Linked DNA regions of Homo sapiens: all the other regions are linked to region 1. Evidence: promoter capture Hi-C in human tissues and cell types (Jung and others, 2019). All regions are on one chromosome and are shown on one strand. Each heading gives the region's core, a stretch centred on a gene start or on the middle of the fragment in contact. The rest is flanking DNA. Distances are from core to core; before and after follow the strand shown. Region 1 holds the start of FMO1 (flavin containing dimethylaniline monoxygenase 1). Region 2 overlaps PRRC2C (proline rich coiled-coil 2C). Region 3 has its middle 18 kb from the start of FMO3.

Evidence for each region. The method cuts DNA at HindIII sites, captures the fragments that hold promoters and counts their contacts. A contact is called where the count stands out against the background at its distance.
Region 2: a contact is called between a fragment that was not itself captured here and the fragment with the promoter of FMO1 in region 1, in 1 of the 25 tissues and cell types used here (thymus).
Region 3: a contact is called between a fragment that was not itself captured here and the fragment with the promoter of FMO1 in region 1, in 1 of the 25 tissues and cell types used here (bladder).

What each region holds. Positions count from the first base shown.
Region 1 is chr1:171,246,040-171,250,634 of GRCh38, reverse strand. FMO1 (flavin containing dimethylaniline monoxygenase 1) reads right to left here and starts at 2,141. Exons shown (of 9, transcript NM_001282693.2): 1 at 2,012-2,141. It overlaps FMO1-AS1 (FMO1 antisense RNA 1), which reads left to right. Exons shown (of 5, transcript XR_922278.4): 2 at 2,908-3,054. The HindIII fragment of the contact is 7,695 bases long and covers 1-4,595 here.
Region 2 is chr1:171,489,408-171,494,002 of GRCh38, reverse strand. All of the region lies in intron 1 of PRRC2C (proline rich coiled-coil 2C), which reads right to left. It also overlaps the pseudogene RN7SL425P. Among named protein-coding and RNA genes, the nearest start is that of PRRC2C, 6.2 kb to the right of the region's middle. The HindIII fragment of the contact is 3,277 bases long and covers 741-4,017 here.
Region 3 is chr1:171,070,836-171,075,430 of GRCh38, reverse strand. No RefSeq gene overlaps it. Among named protein-coding and RNA genes, the nearest start is that of FMO3, 18 kb to the left of the region's middle. The HindIII fragment of the contact is 4,905 bases long and covers 36-4,595 here.

The DNA of each region.
Region 1 (4,595 bases), core at 892-3,391:
TACAGGGTTAGAAACTACTATGCTTTTTTGTGAATTTTATACTGCTTCCTCTTCTTGAAAGTTGTAAAATGCAAATATATAATTTACTGAAGTCAGATTGAGTGTCCGCTTTGGTTTAGTAGGACAGTAGATCATGAGAGGTCAAAACATGAGGTGACGCCTGTCATTACCAAACTGCAGCGGCACTCTGAGCTATTTTAAAATTTTGAAGAAGCACAGTGATTCTTGATGTCAGTTGAACACTATGCTAAGTATTAGCTGAAAGTAGTTAACAGTTTTAATATTGTAAAAGACTGTGTTCCATTTGCTGACATCATATCTTTGCAAAGCTGGGTGTTTGACAATTGCTATGACAAAAAGCAAGTATTGCATGAAAACTGAGGTAGAATAGAAATGAAGGGTTCATGTCTGATCTGATTCCAAGGTTTGAGAAGTTGTGCAGTGCTCAGCAGGCACATAAACCTTATTATTAAGTAATTGGGATTAAGAATGAAATAAAAATATTATTTTTCTTTTAGTTTGTATATTACTTGTTCAAAAAACTACAAAGTTGTTAGAACATAAATAGTTATTAAGTTTTTGTCTACTTAATAGGAGAAACTATGGTCTGGGGGCACCTTGAAGAAATTGCACACCAAGGGCTCCTTGAACCTAGAAAGTTGAAAACTTCTGGGCAAGAGTTTTATTTTCCGAGTTTATTTTATTGACCCGGAGATTTTATTTGTTGATGTCAAGAAAATGCATATTATACTATATTTGAGGCTAGCATTGTATCAATTAGCCAATGTTTAACTGTTTCCAGTGTGACTCACCTATGCATTTACTAGGAAGCCATTGGCACTGTCAGATTTGTATCCAGCCCTCTATTTATGCATTCCCCATCTTCTCCTCCTTCCCTACTCCCTCTGTCTCTCTCTCTCACACACACACATACACACACACACACACTCCTACACCTTAGTGCATGAAAATACTTCAGAATACTGGTTGGCACAGACTGCACAATGATACCCTATCCTCAAGTGGGTTGTGACATTTCAGGAGTAATCAGAGAGAGATTCAGCTGGATGGCAGTTGGGGTGGGTGAAGGTGCCTACTTAGCCCCTGGGAACAAAGGAGCACAGCTGGTAAGAAACTTGGGTCCAAGGAGGGCCATACTCTGGGATTTCTGTCCTCTAGCAGCAGCTCCTCATTTACTCAAATGTTCCTAACCACAACAAGCAAATAAAAATTCTCCCAGGCTTTAGGTCCTCTGTGCCAGTTACAAGGCCATAGCAGATTCCCTAGGATGCAGGGGAAACTCTAATAACCAAGGACTCAGTTTCTCCATCTGCAGAACAGATGGCATAGACCTGAATATCTAAAAATGATTTTCAAACCCTTGATGTTTATGATCTTGTGAATTTAACTGGAGCAGGATTAGTAAAAAAGATGTGCCAATCACATGGAAATCAATAAATTTTGACATAATACATAGAATGAAGCACGAAACACTTTTAACAACAGAAAAAAAGATGACATGACAGAACAGATTAGTCAAATTCTAAAGGGGCTTGCCTTTTGCTTCCCACTTGTGCCAAATGCCAACATTTGGTAGTCACCCTTCAAAAACTATGATCTCAGACAATGTTAGAAGCTGCTGATGGAAGCACTAAAAAAAAAAAGAGACTTTTCCTCTTGCATTAGAAATCCAAGTTTTTCCCATTTGATTCAACCACTTAATAATCTACCCAACAGTATACTTACCTGTGTACATGGAAGACAGGTAAGTATACTGCTGGGTAGATTATTAAGTGGTTGAATCAATGATATTGTCCCATTATAAGTATCCAAACATTTACTACTCCTATACTTTGGGCCAAGGAGTAGCTTTATAGCTCCTCCAGGGTTGGACAGAGAAAGCTGCTTTCTGATAAGGTGGTTCTTCCCTGGAGCACAATAACAAAACAGGAAAACTCCAGACCCCACTTTCCTCATCCAAAGAAATCAGAGATTATATCTGGTTACTTACTTTACGTACTTGTAATTTCTGGTGCCAATGGCTCTGCCACGCAGGACTCTGGTATTAGCAGAGATCAAAATGAATCAGTATGAGCCAGTGCTGGCTTGGGAGTCCCCAGCACAGTGGATAAACCTGGTCTAAGAGATAAGGAATGTTAAATTTGAAACCCAAGGTTAGCCGTTGTTTATATTTTAACTTGTTGATTAATGCAACAGCGAAATGCTAGGAGAAACACTGTCTGGTGATATGTACTTTAGACTCACTCTTCTGCTTACAGACTATAAACTAAGTTAGGGAGTTACACCAGCATCCTCACTTGTTCATCAGTTTTATTCTTTAAGGGGATGAGAATAAAATAAGACAATTATGTTAACAGTTACTACACCACAGATTCACTTTTAAGGGCTTTGATCCATTTCACCTTTAGGGACAATTATTATTTTTAAAAAATCATATATTACTCACATTAGTAAACTCAATTTGTAAAGGCTTTTTAAGTGCAGCTGATTGCCCAAGCACTTGGGAAATAAAAGACAGGTATATGGGAGGAGTCTGATCTTGGGAATCACAAGTCCTGGGTTCGAGTATTGCGTTCACCAGCTATTATCAGAGTCATGTTGGAAAAATTGTATAACTTTTCTCAGCTTTAGTTTCCTCAATTTAAAATAGGCATGATCGAGTGGCTGCCAGGGGCTGGGGAAAGAAGGGAATGGGGAAGGATTGCTAATGAGTATGGAGTTTTCTTTTGGGTGTGATGAAAGTGTTTTGAAACTGGATAGAGGTTGTGGTTACACAGCATTATGAATGTACTAAATGCCACTGAATTCTATACTTTGAAATGGTTAACGACAGATTGTTGGAAAATGGTGGATAGGAGGCAGGACTAACTTGCAGTTTCCACGCAGACAGACAGAACAGCATGTGGAGACTCACACAGTGAAATTTTCCTCCAAGAAGTACTGCATGAACATACCAGGAAAACCAAAAGAATTCACAGGACCTTTGAAAGAAGTGGCTTGCCGCTGCAAACTCCATGAGACAGCTGAAAAACTGTGAGTGCCCAAAGTGTGAGTGGGGGAAAAAATCTGCCTCCAAACACGCAAACCCACTAGGGAACCTAAAAATCCAGATCACAGGAGAAGGATTTAACCTTACCTAGAGCTGGGATGAATTTAGAGAGCAAAACGAAATATAAAAGTAGAAGCAGTGGGAAGAGCCCTGTAGGTACTCTTGGTGCCCAGGGAAGTCATTTCTGACTTTATCTCACAGGGGTCCTTGAGGAGGGCTGCCAGTGAAATTGAGGAAGGACCACAGGGAGAAGGAAACTTCCAGCTGAACTTTGTAATAGTTTTGACTATTAGCCTGAGAAACACGAATACTTATCCAGGAGACCTTAGGGCAATCTTGCATTCTCCCTATACTACCGCAGCTGATGCTGTCTTGAAAATGAGGAAAAGGAGTCATTATACAAAAAAGATACTTGAACACACTTGTTTATAGCAGCACAATTTGCAATTGCAAAAAATGAAACCAGCCAAAATGCCCATCAATCAATGAGTGGATAAATAATTCGTGGTATATACATACCATGGAATACTACTCAGCCATAAAAAGGGATGAAATAATGGCATTCACAGCAACCTGGATGGAGTTGCAGACCATTATCCTAAGTGAAGTAACTTGGGAGTGGAAAACTGAACATTCTATGTTCTCACTCATAAGTTGGAGCTAGGCTATGAGAATACAAAGGCATAAAAATGATACAATGGACTTTGGGGACTTGGGGGTAAGTGTTGGAGTGGGGGGTGATGCATAAAAGACTACACATTGGGTATAGTGTACACTGCTCAGATGATGGGTGCACCAAAACCCACAAATCACCATTAAAGAACTTATCCAGGTAACAAAACACCACCTGCTCCCCCAAAAGCTATTGAAATAAATAAAATAAAAAATTCTAAAAAATAAATAAAACAGGCATAATAACATCTGCATCAGATAGTTGTGGTGGGGATTAGATGAGATAATCTATGTCAAGAGATTTGTGTATATATAGTAAATACTGTGTATGATTGTAATGATGATAATGATGATGATGATGATGCTGTCATTGTTGGACCAGATAAGGTGTCTTGATTGCTGGTTCATAACACTGAAATGACTCCCACAGGTACAGAGAATAAATTCCATGAGAGGTTGGTGGACTGAAGCAGAGAGAAATTTCTGAAAGAATATGTCTTTTTCCTTGATTTTCAACATGGTATAACCCTTTGACCTGGAGGTCCTGTGTATCACTGAGTATACTGCTTGCTCATTGGGCTCACCTTTTGCCTCATTTCTGGCTTATTAAGTATTCAGCACAGAGACAGCATTGTTAGCTCTGTGAAATTCAGCTGCTTTGCTGCAGCTATGAAAATAATAATATTTGGATGATTTCAAGCTTAATTATACCCAGAGAGTAAGCCTTTAAAATGACTATTAGTTCAAGTATGTTTTCAAAAATCAGAATATGTTTGATTTGTAATTTACCTTGGTGTGCAGCATATACACATCAAGGTAAGTATGTAAGTACTGGGATTTGGTACACTAATGG
Region 2 (4,595 bases), core at 1,130-3,629, 240 kb before region 1:
AATTTTTTACTTCCTCACCTGGGTGGGCTATAATATCTACTCCAATACTATTATAAGATTTAATTAACAAAGTGTGTATAAAGCTCTTAGAATAGTGTAAAGCCTGTAACAAAAACTTATTAAGTGGTAATCAATATTTGCAAAACTAATATATTAAAAAGAAAAACCCAAGCATAGATAATTTCTTCTCTTTTTTTTTGAGACAGAGTCTTGCTCTGTTGCCCAGGCTAGAGTGCAGTGGTAGGATCTCCGCCTCCCAGGCTCAAGCAATTCTCCAGCCTCAGCCTCCTGAGTAGCTGGGGTTACAGGCGCCTGCCACCACAACTGACTAATTTTTGTATTTTTAGTAGAGATGGGGTTTCACCATGTTGGCCAGGCTGGTGTCAAATTCCTGACCTCAAGTAATCCACCCACCTTGGCCTCCCAAAGTGCTGGGATTACAGGGTGAGCCATCGCTTCAGGCCCAAAGCATAGATAATTTCTTAGTCAACCTTTATTTATTATTTTCCTTTTCAACAGTTTTACTCTGTCACCCATGCTGGAGTGCAGCAGTGCCATCACTTTGCAACCCTGAACTTGAGCTCAAGTGATCCTCCTACCTCACCCTTCTGAGGAGCTAGGACTACAAGTACATGCCACCCCATCCAGTTAATTGAACTTTGTTTTTTGCAAGGCCAAAGTATGTTGAATGTTATGAGAGTGAAAGAGAAGTACTTGCTCCAAGATGCTCATCTAGCATTATGAATTATGGTTAATCTTTTGGAGGACCAAAGGGTTGCCTTTAAAAGTCAGAATATTAATTTTAAATTTATTAAGTGTAGAGAATTGGTTAACATCCCTCCGTATCATTGGCCCTCTTCTTCTACCACTGAAATATCCAGTCTTAAGACATGTAAACCTATTTCCTTCCTTCTCTTCTTTTATTATTTTATTTTATTTTATTTAAATTCCCCGGCCAGGCGCAGTGGCTCACGCCTTGTAATCCCAGCACTTTGGGAGGGCGAGGCAGGTGGATCATTTGAGGTCAGTTCAGGACCAGCCTGGCCAACACGGTGAAACCCCATCTCTACTAAAAATACAAAGATTAGCCAGGTGTGCTGGTACACACCTGTAATCCCAGCTACTCGGGCTGCTGAGGCAGAAGAATTGCTTGAACCTGGGAGGCAGAGGTTGCAGTGAGCCAAGATCGCACCACTGCCTCCAGCCTGGGCGACAGAGAGAGACTCTGTCTCTAAATAAATAAATAAATAAATAAATAAATAAAATTAAAAAAATTCCCCTACCCTCTTGCTTTTAATAAGAAACAGGGTCACCTTAATGTTGTCCAGGCCGGAGTGCAATGGCTATCCCACTACTGATCAGCATGGGAGTTTTAACCTGCTCTGTTGCCAACCTGGACCAGTTCACCCCTCCTCAGGCAACCTGTTAGTCCCCCACTCCCAGGACACCCTATTGATGCTGAATTTAGTGCAGACACTCAGTCCATATGTAGAACACAGTGCGCTACCCTCCACAACTCCTGGGCTCAAGAGATCCTTCCACCTCAGCCTTCCAAGTAGCTAAGACCACAGGCACATGCCACAACACCCAACTCCTTCTTTTTCTTTCTCCTACTTTCATTCTTTCTATGTTCAAGTTTGTCATAAATATAACAGTATAATCAAAATATTTTTTCTTTCTAATCAGAAAACAAATCATTCAGCATGGGTAGGCCATTCTTGGCTTTTTCCATCCCTCTTTAATAGTTATTTCTTCAAGAGAATTTCCCTGTCTCCAAAATGCCAGAAGACTCTAGTTCTACAGTTGGGAGATGTTTTATCTTTCTACATTCTGTATCCTAGTTGTGGGGGCTACAAAAATCCATACGTACTAAAACTTAAAGAACTGTACACCACAAATCAAATTTCCAAATATAAACTTAAAATTCACCTGTCTAAAGCCTCCTTTGTTTTCAATGTCCTCTGTTTTCAAAATAAAATGCCACTGTTCCATTTTCCTAACCTTCAGAAGTAACTGTGTACCTTCCCTATTGTGCTTCTTCAATTAAGAGCTATAAAATTTATATAGCTTTAATTATAAAACCTAACATTAAAAAGTTACTTATATATAAAACTACCAGCCACATGACCAAAAATCTAAATTTTAATTTAAACCCCAAAATTACAAAGTTTTTGGGTAAGATTAAATTGTGTTAAGTATTGTTTTACTCTTATCACTCTTCTTTGAAATATGATAAACTATGATATTTAATATAGTTTCTTGATTAATAAAAATATTTAATAAGCTACAATACAGATCTTTAAAGTACACTGGATAAATGAGAATTCTGTACTTGCCCAACCACCTAACCCATCTCAGCAAAAAGTTCAAAGCTTTTTGTTCCTTAGTGACCATTTCTCCAATTTCCCAATTGTTTTTGATGTTGTTCTAAATGTATCCTTAATATGTCTCCTTAAGGAGTCTTTCAGAGCATCCATTGCTCTCCATAGGGCCTTTATGTAACTAGGAAAAATACATCCTTCTGGGGAAATACAGACACTTTTGGCAAGGAGCTGATGCCTTGGAGAGAGAAGTGGAGGCACAGTTCCCTCTGCGAGGCCTAAGCTGGGGCACAGGACTCTGTAAGCAGAACACAGGCTGACTTGTTGCTTCCTTCAGTCCAGCATCTTTGGGCAGTATACAAGCTGCATAACCATATATAGCAGCCCTGTACCTTCAGATTGTTCACTGGCAAACAGGGAAGAAAAAATGAATTATTAACTTATCTAGATACCCATTCTCCAACCACATACATGTATCCATCTCTTATCCTTCAGACTCAAGATTTATTCAGAAGGGATCTTCCAACCTTATAGGGAACGTATCTTCCCCTTTATCTTTAATTTTCCCTTTTCGTGGTTCTCTTTTCTGCTTTAAATATGGTCAAGACTCATGTCTTGATATTGTGTAATATCAAAGAATATTAAATTCAGAAGATATATAGAAATACATAAATGTACTCTTTGCAATAGTCCTCTGAGATAGGGGAAATGGATATTATCCTTGTATCACAAATCAATATATTTAAAACTTAAGCCAGGTTAACTTGCCCCAAAATTAACAGCTGGCACAAAGTGACAAAAAGGACTAAACCTAGGTTTTAAAACAATTAGTCTAGAGTCCACTTTGAGTATTCAATATATCTAAAAATCAAGAGATTTTCCCTCTTCCCCCTTTAACCTTCCACTTTTGTAACTTGACCTAGATTATTTTAAGGTCACCAAGGATATCACAGCCAAATCCAAAGACTACTTGTCACATATTTTTCTGAACTCTGCTACATTTAGCTCTAATAATCCTGTTTTTAGATTATCCTCTTCTGCCCTGATTTCTATAGTGACTTCCTTCTTATTTTGTCTTGTTCTTCCCTTGCCATAGACTGTCCTAGACATCCTATTACATTTCTCTATCTAAATAAACCTACTCCTTTGCGGTTTATCATGAAAGTGGTTGTCTCAAGTATGTAGTTAAGACTAATTCATATCTCTATTCCTGTAATGCTGCCATTTCCTATTTTATCAATCTATTCCATTCTAGGCTTTCGACCTTCATTAACTGTACCTGTGGCCTGATCCTATCCAGTATTCATTTCTTATAGCAGTAATGTCCCAAAGGGTGGAATACAAAGACTGGTAGTATACTGGATGATTTTAAGTGATCCACAGAAAATTATGTAAAATCATGTTTATTTTAAAACATGTTGGGGGGAAGCTAATGCCAAATAATCATAAAAATTTCCTTTTAAACGGCAGGATGCAGTGGCTCACGCCTGTAATCCCAGCACTTTGGGAGGCCAAGGTGGGCGGATCACGAGGTCAGGAGTTCGAGACCAGTCTGACAACATGGTGAAACCCCATCTCTACTAAAAATACAAAAATTAGCCAGGCGTGATGGCAGGCACCTGTAATCCCAGCTACTCAGGAAGCTGAGGTAGGAGAATCACTTGAACCCGGGAGGGAGAGGTTGCAGTGAGCCAAGATAGCGCCACTGCACTCCAGCCTGGGCAACGGAGTGAGACTCCATCTAAAAAAAGAAAAAAAAAATTCGTTTAAATTCATTTAATTAAAAGACAGCAAGTTGAATTGAAGAAAAATATTAAGTAACAGGCAGATGGTTTGGGACGAAGCAGAAATTGTGAATGATTTAAGTTTGGAAAATACTGGCCACTAGGAAACCCATGTAGTTGAGTTAGGCACTCAGGCTCTGGATCAATAATTCAAATGCCATTTCTACCACTTAAAAGCTAAGTAACTTTGAGCAAATTACTTAAATCTCTTCCTTTTAGGCTTTCTGCAATATGGATTTAAATAGATCATTCAAAAAATAGTCTTAGTTTAGTAACATGGCATAGTAAGTGCTCAAGAAATATTAATAATCACAATTATTCTTGATTTTTCTTAGACATCACAGCTTCACTTATAATCAACTAGGAACTCAATCTGTACTATCTGTAATTTTCTGTACCAAATTTCCCTTACCTTCTTATACACCTTTTTATCTTCTGGCATGAATCCAAAGACTACAAGATAACTTTTAACATTAATCCTTAAGGCTGT
Region 3 (4,595 bases), core at 1,239-3,738, 180 kb after region 1:
AAAGTGTCTTTTAATTTCAAGCCGTAAAATAAAATCTCTGAAGCCTGAGGTGCATAAATATAGGCCCGTATAAGCCTATTAAGAGAAAAAACGTTCTCTGAAACATCTGATTTATTTGCCCTACAAAACATTATCTTCCTGTGACTTTTCCTTCCCTATATTTTGATGTGGCAATTAAATGCTGTGGGCAGTTAAATTATAGGATACAGATAGAATGCTTAGCTCTTTGGAAGAGCTCAATAAAAGTTAACTACTATGTACAAATTAGACATAGAAACCTACCATATCTGGGGAAGGGAGTAGGGAAACTTGGGAACTGCAGAGCTGGGCAGGTGTCTGGTACTTTCTAATTGTGGCTAAACAAATTAAAACATTGCAAAGAATTTTTAGAAGTCAACGTTAATGCTTTGACAGAAAAATATTTTAAAAATATTTCTTCATTTGGTAAAGAGTTAATCCATGTTTGAAATACCTGTAAGTTCCTCTGAATGCATGGGTTCCGTTTACTGGAAACTTTTCTGGAGTAATTAGAGAATATTTCATGGTCAAGGTTACTCTATGAATTGTTTTAGTAAATATATCTGTAAAGTGATGGACATTTTATTATCAAGAAATGAACTAAAATACTCATGATTTATGTCATTAATTTGTGTGGCTGTCAGGCCCTATTGATTTATATCCTCTGTATCTTGTTGAAGCACACTGTGAAACCCCTTCCCTAGCTTGTTTACAGCAATGAACGTCTTGCTTATTTAAAGCCACTGCCAGCCCAGACAACTTCTATTGCTTAGAATTATTCTTCCAGTCACCCATTACCCTCTATTAAAAAGGCTTTTTTCCTCTCTTTTTAGAAAACTACTCTTGACTACAATTATAACTCCCTGATGGGAGGCCTTCCTCTATAACTGACGTCCTGAAGGAAAATTTTACCTTGAGACATTTTTCATATACATAAGTGGTAAAAGAAGAGAATAAAAGGAAGGGAAAAAAGACAGTAACAGAAATCAAGCTGTAAATGGGACCCCAAAATACCAGGAACTAAATTATCTGACATTGTGGAATAACTTAGTAACTCTTGGCCTCATAAATATATTTCTAAGTAGCAATTCAATTCAAACCAATATATTAATATTATAGAACTGTGGTTTCTACATTCTTTGACTAAGAACTTCCTAAAAGAGTCCCTCCCTCCCTCCCTCCCTTCTCACCTTCCTTCCTTCCTTTTTTTTCTTTCCTTTCCTCCCTTTCTTTTTTCTTTTTCTTTTCTTTTCTTTTTCTTTCTTTCTTTCCCACAACGTTTTACTCTGTTGCCCAGGCTGGAGTGCAGTGGTGAAATCATGGCTCACTGCAGTCTCAACCACCACGGGCTTAGGTGATCCTCCCACCTCAGCTTCCTGAGTAGATGGGACCACAGGCACATGCCACCATGCTTGGCTAATTTTTGTATTTTTTGTAGAGAAGGAGTTTCACCATGTTTCCCAGGTTGGTCTTGAACTGGGCTCAAGCGATCCACCTGCCTCAGCCTCCCAGAGGGCTGGGATTACAGGTGTGAGCCACAGTGCCTGGCCTAAAAGGAATATTTCTTACCATTCTTTTTCCAAAGTGTAGATTCACAGTTTGACTAGATTGATTTCGATGTCACTGTAAGGTGGTAGAGGAAGAGGTACAGAGAAGGTCCCATTTGTAAACCAAAAAGTATCTGAGACAGGACTCAATCAATTTAGAATTTTATTTTGCCAAGGTTAAGGACCATGGCCAATGATACAGCCTCAGGAGGTCCTGAGAACATGGTGTATACATTTTAGGGAGACAGGAATTAAAGGCAAAGACATAAATCAATACATGTAAGGTATACACTGGTTTGGCCTGGAAAGGTGGGACATCTTGAATGGGTGGGAGAGGTGGGCTTCCAGGTCATAGGTGGATTCAGAGCTGTTCTGATTGGCAATTGGGTGGAAGAGTTAAGCTCCACATGAAGACTTGAACTCAGCATAAAGAAATGCTTGAGTTTAGATAAAGGGTTTGTGGTAACCAAGGTTCTTGTCATAGAGATGAAGCCTCCAAGTAGCAAGCTTCAGAGGGAATAGATGGCGAATGTCTCTTATCAGAACGTAAAAGGTGTCAGACTCTCAAAAAAAAAAAAAAAAAAAACAGTAAGGGAAAGAGACTCTCTACAGAATGCAAATCTTCCCCACAAGAGACAGATTTTCAGGGCCATTTCAGAATTTGTCAAATAAATATATTTTGGAGTAGAATACTTATTTTCCTTCAGAGCCTGTTATCTGTCATGTATATCAGAGTCAGGTTGGAATTGTTTTATTGCTATGGAGTCTGTTTTGTCAGTCTTGAGTTTGCTAGTTAGTTGCATCTAAACTCCAAAGAGAGGAGTGAACAATGAGGCATGTCTGACCTTCCACTTTCCATCATGGCTTGAACAAGTCTTTAAGGTTTCTTCGGGGTTCCCTTGGCCAAGAGGGGGTCCATTAAGACAACTGGGGGACTTGGAATTCTATTTTTTGTTTACACATTGAGGAGGAATCAGAAGAGTCTACTGAAAACAGAGCATACGACAAAATTGCTAATTTTATCACAACTCTCCAATGAGAATATCGGTAATTTAATTATTTGAGGATTCAATTTTTGCAACTTACTCTGTCCTTATGGGTGTTGGAGGACAGAGTGGGATGTTGATTTTTGTAATAGATATAATATTGTATTTTGAAATGTTCAACATGCCAAGGAAATGCAAAGTCCCACCTGTCATTCCTGTTGTCACAGTCTTGATAGAAGCCCTCATGCAACCTTGCTTTCAATATCATAGTGGCAGTGTAGCTGGCTTTCCTGACTACACTCTCCTTTCTTCTGCTGGCAACCTCCAGCAGATAGCCATCAAACCAATTTTTCCTGATAGCCTACTTTTATTAAGTCAAGAGACTACTCCAAATCACTACTTCACACTCAACATATGTAATATAAATTCCTGTGCATAACATGCTTTTATTATTTTTATTTATTTATTTATTTTTTGAGACGGAATCTCGCTCAGTCTCCCAGGCTGGAGTGCAGTGGCCTGATCTGGGCTCACTGCAAGCTCCGCCTCCCGGGTTGACGCCATTCTCCTGCCTCAGCCTCCCAAGTAGCTGGGACTACAGGCGCCTGCCACTACACCCGGCTAATTTTTTGTATTTTTAGTAGAGATGGGGTTTCACCATGTTAGCCAGGATGGTCTCGATCTCCTGACCTTGTGATCCACCTGTCTCGGCCTCCCAAAGTGCTGGGATTACAGGCGTGAGACACAGCACCCGGTCATAACATGCTTTTTAAATTTTGAAAATGTTTATATAGTTCCAGGGTTTTGTGCAAAGTGCTGAAGATTCAGTGACAAATATGACATAGCTCTTATTACAACAGAGCTCGTCGATTAGTGATGAGAAATCAGATGACTTCTTATTTCCTTTTCAATGACAGTGACTTGTTTAAAAGCATTCATTGAATCAGCATATATTTGAGTGCCAGATGACAGGCATCGTTCTTGAATTTAGGATTACAGTGGTGGACAAAATTGAATGCCCGTTTCATAGTGCTTACTTCTGGCTTGGATTACTCATAAAAGTTGCTTATAATGTAATAAAAAGCAAAAAGTCAAAATAAGTATTATATCCTATATCCTTCATTTTTACTCCCCAAAGGCAATCACTATTAATGGCTTTTGTGTATATTTCCAAAGTTTTCTGTCTATGCCAATATATATGTTTATTTTATTTTTGAGCAAAGGGCTCAAATTGTAACTCTACTTAATTTATTTAATCAAATCATATCTTAACATCTCTGAAATAGCGACATCTTATAATCAATGCTATATTATAGTTTTAATTGGCAGAATGTTTTCTTCTCTTTTTGTTACATAAAATGAGGGTGCGTCTTAATGTTGAGCCGATGAAATATAGTATTTTAATAGTAAAGGATTTGGCTATGAGTACAGAAAACCAACAGCATACCAGTTAGAGATGGTATGGTGTTTTCAGCCTAATTACGTTAGGCTGAAAGTAACAGAAATGAAAACCAACAGCTTAAAAAAGGAGTGTAATTTTTCTCACATAACAAGAAATTCTGGTGTTAGGAATGCAGGGCTAATGCATGGCTTTAATGTGCCAATGGGGCTCAAGCTCCTTTGTCTTTATCCTCCTCAGGGTAGTCAGAAGATGGTTCCTTCTCTTTCTGATGGTGCTACTACATCTAGGCAGGAAGAAAAAATGCTATCTACCTTTAACGCATTCTATATATAATGGCGGAGAAGAAACAGGATAAATGCAGGAAAAACTACCATTCAGAAAAGAGGAAGACGGGAAGACGGTGATCACCGGTTCATAGATATCGTCAAATCCTGCCAGGCAGGGATGGTAACTCTGGGCCCCAGCAGCAGAGTGAATATTTAGTTGGGCAACCTGGCAACCCCTGGTTCTGTTTTCTGGAAGAACCACCCTTGTCCATTGTCCTCTGTGGACCTGAATCTTTCCTTTTCAAGTTGGGGAGTATGAAGGAGGTACTTCTAGGAGTTTGTTCAGCTGTTAAATTTTACTTCTTTTGGTGTGAAT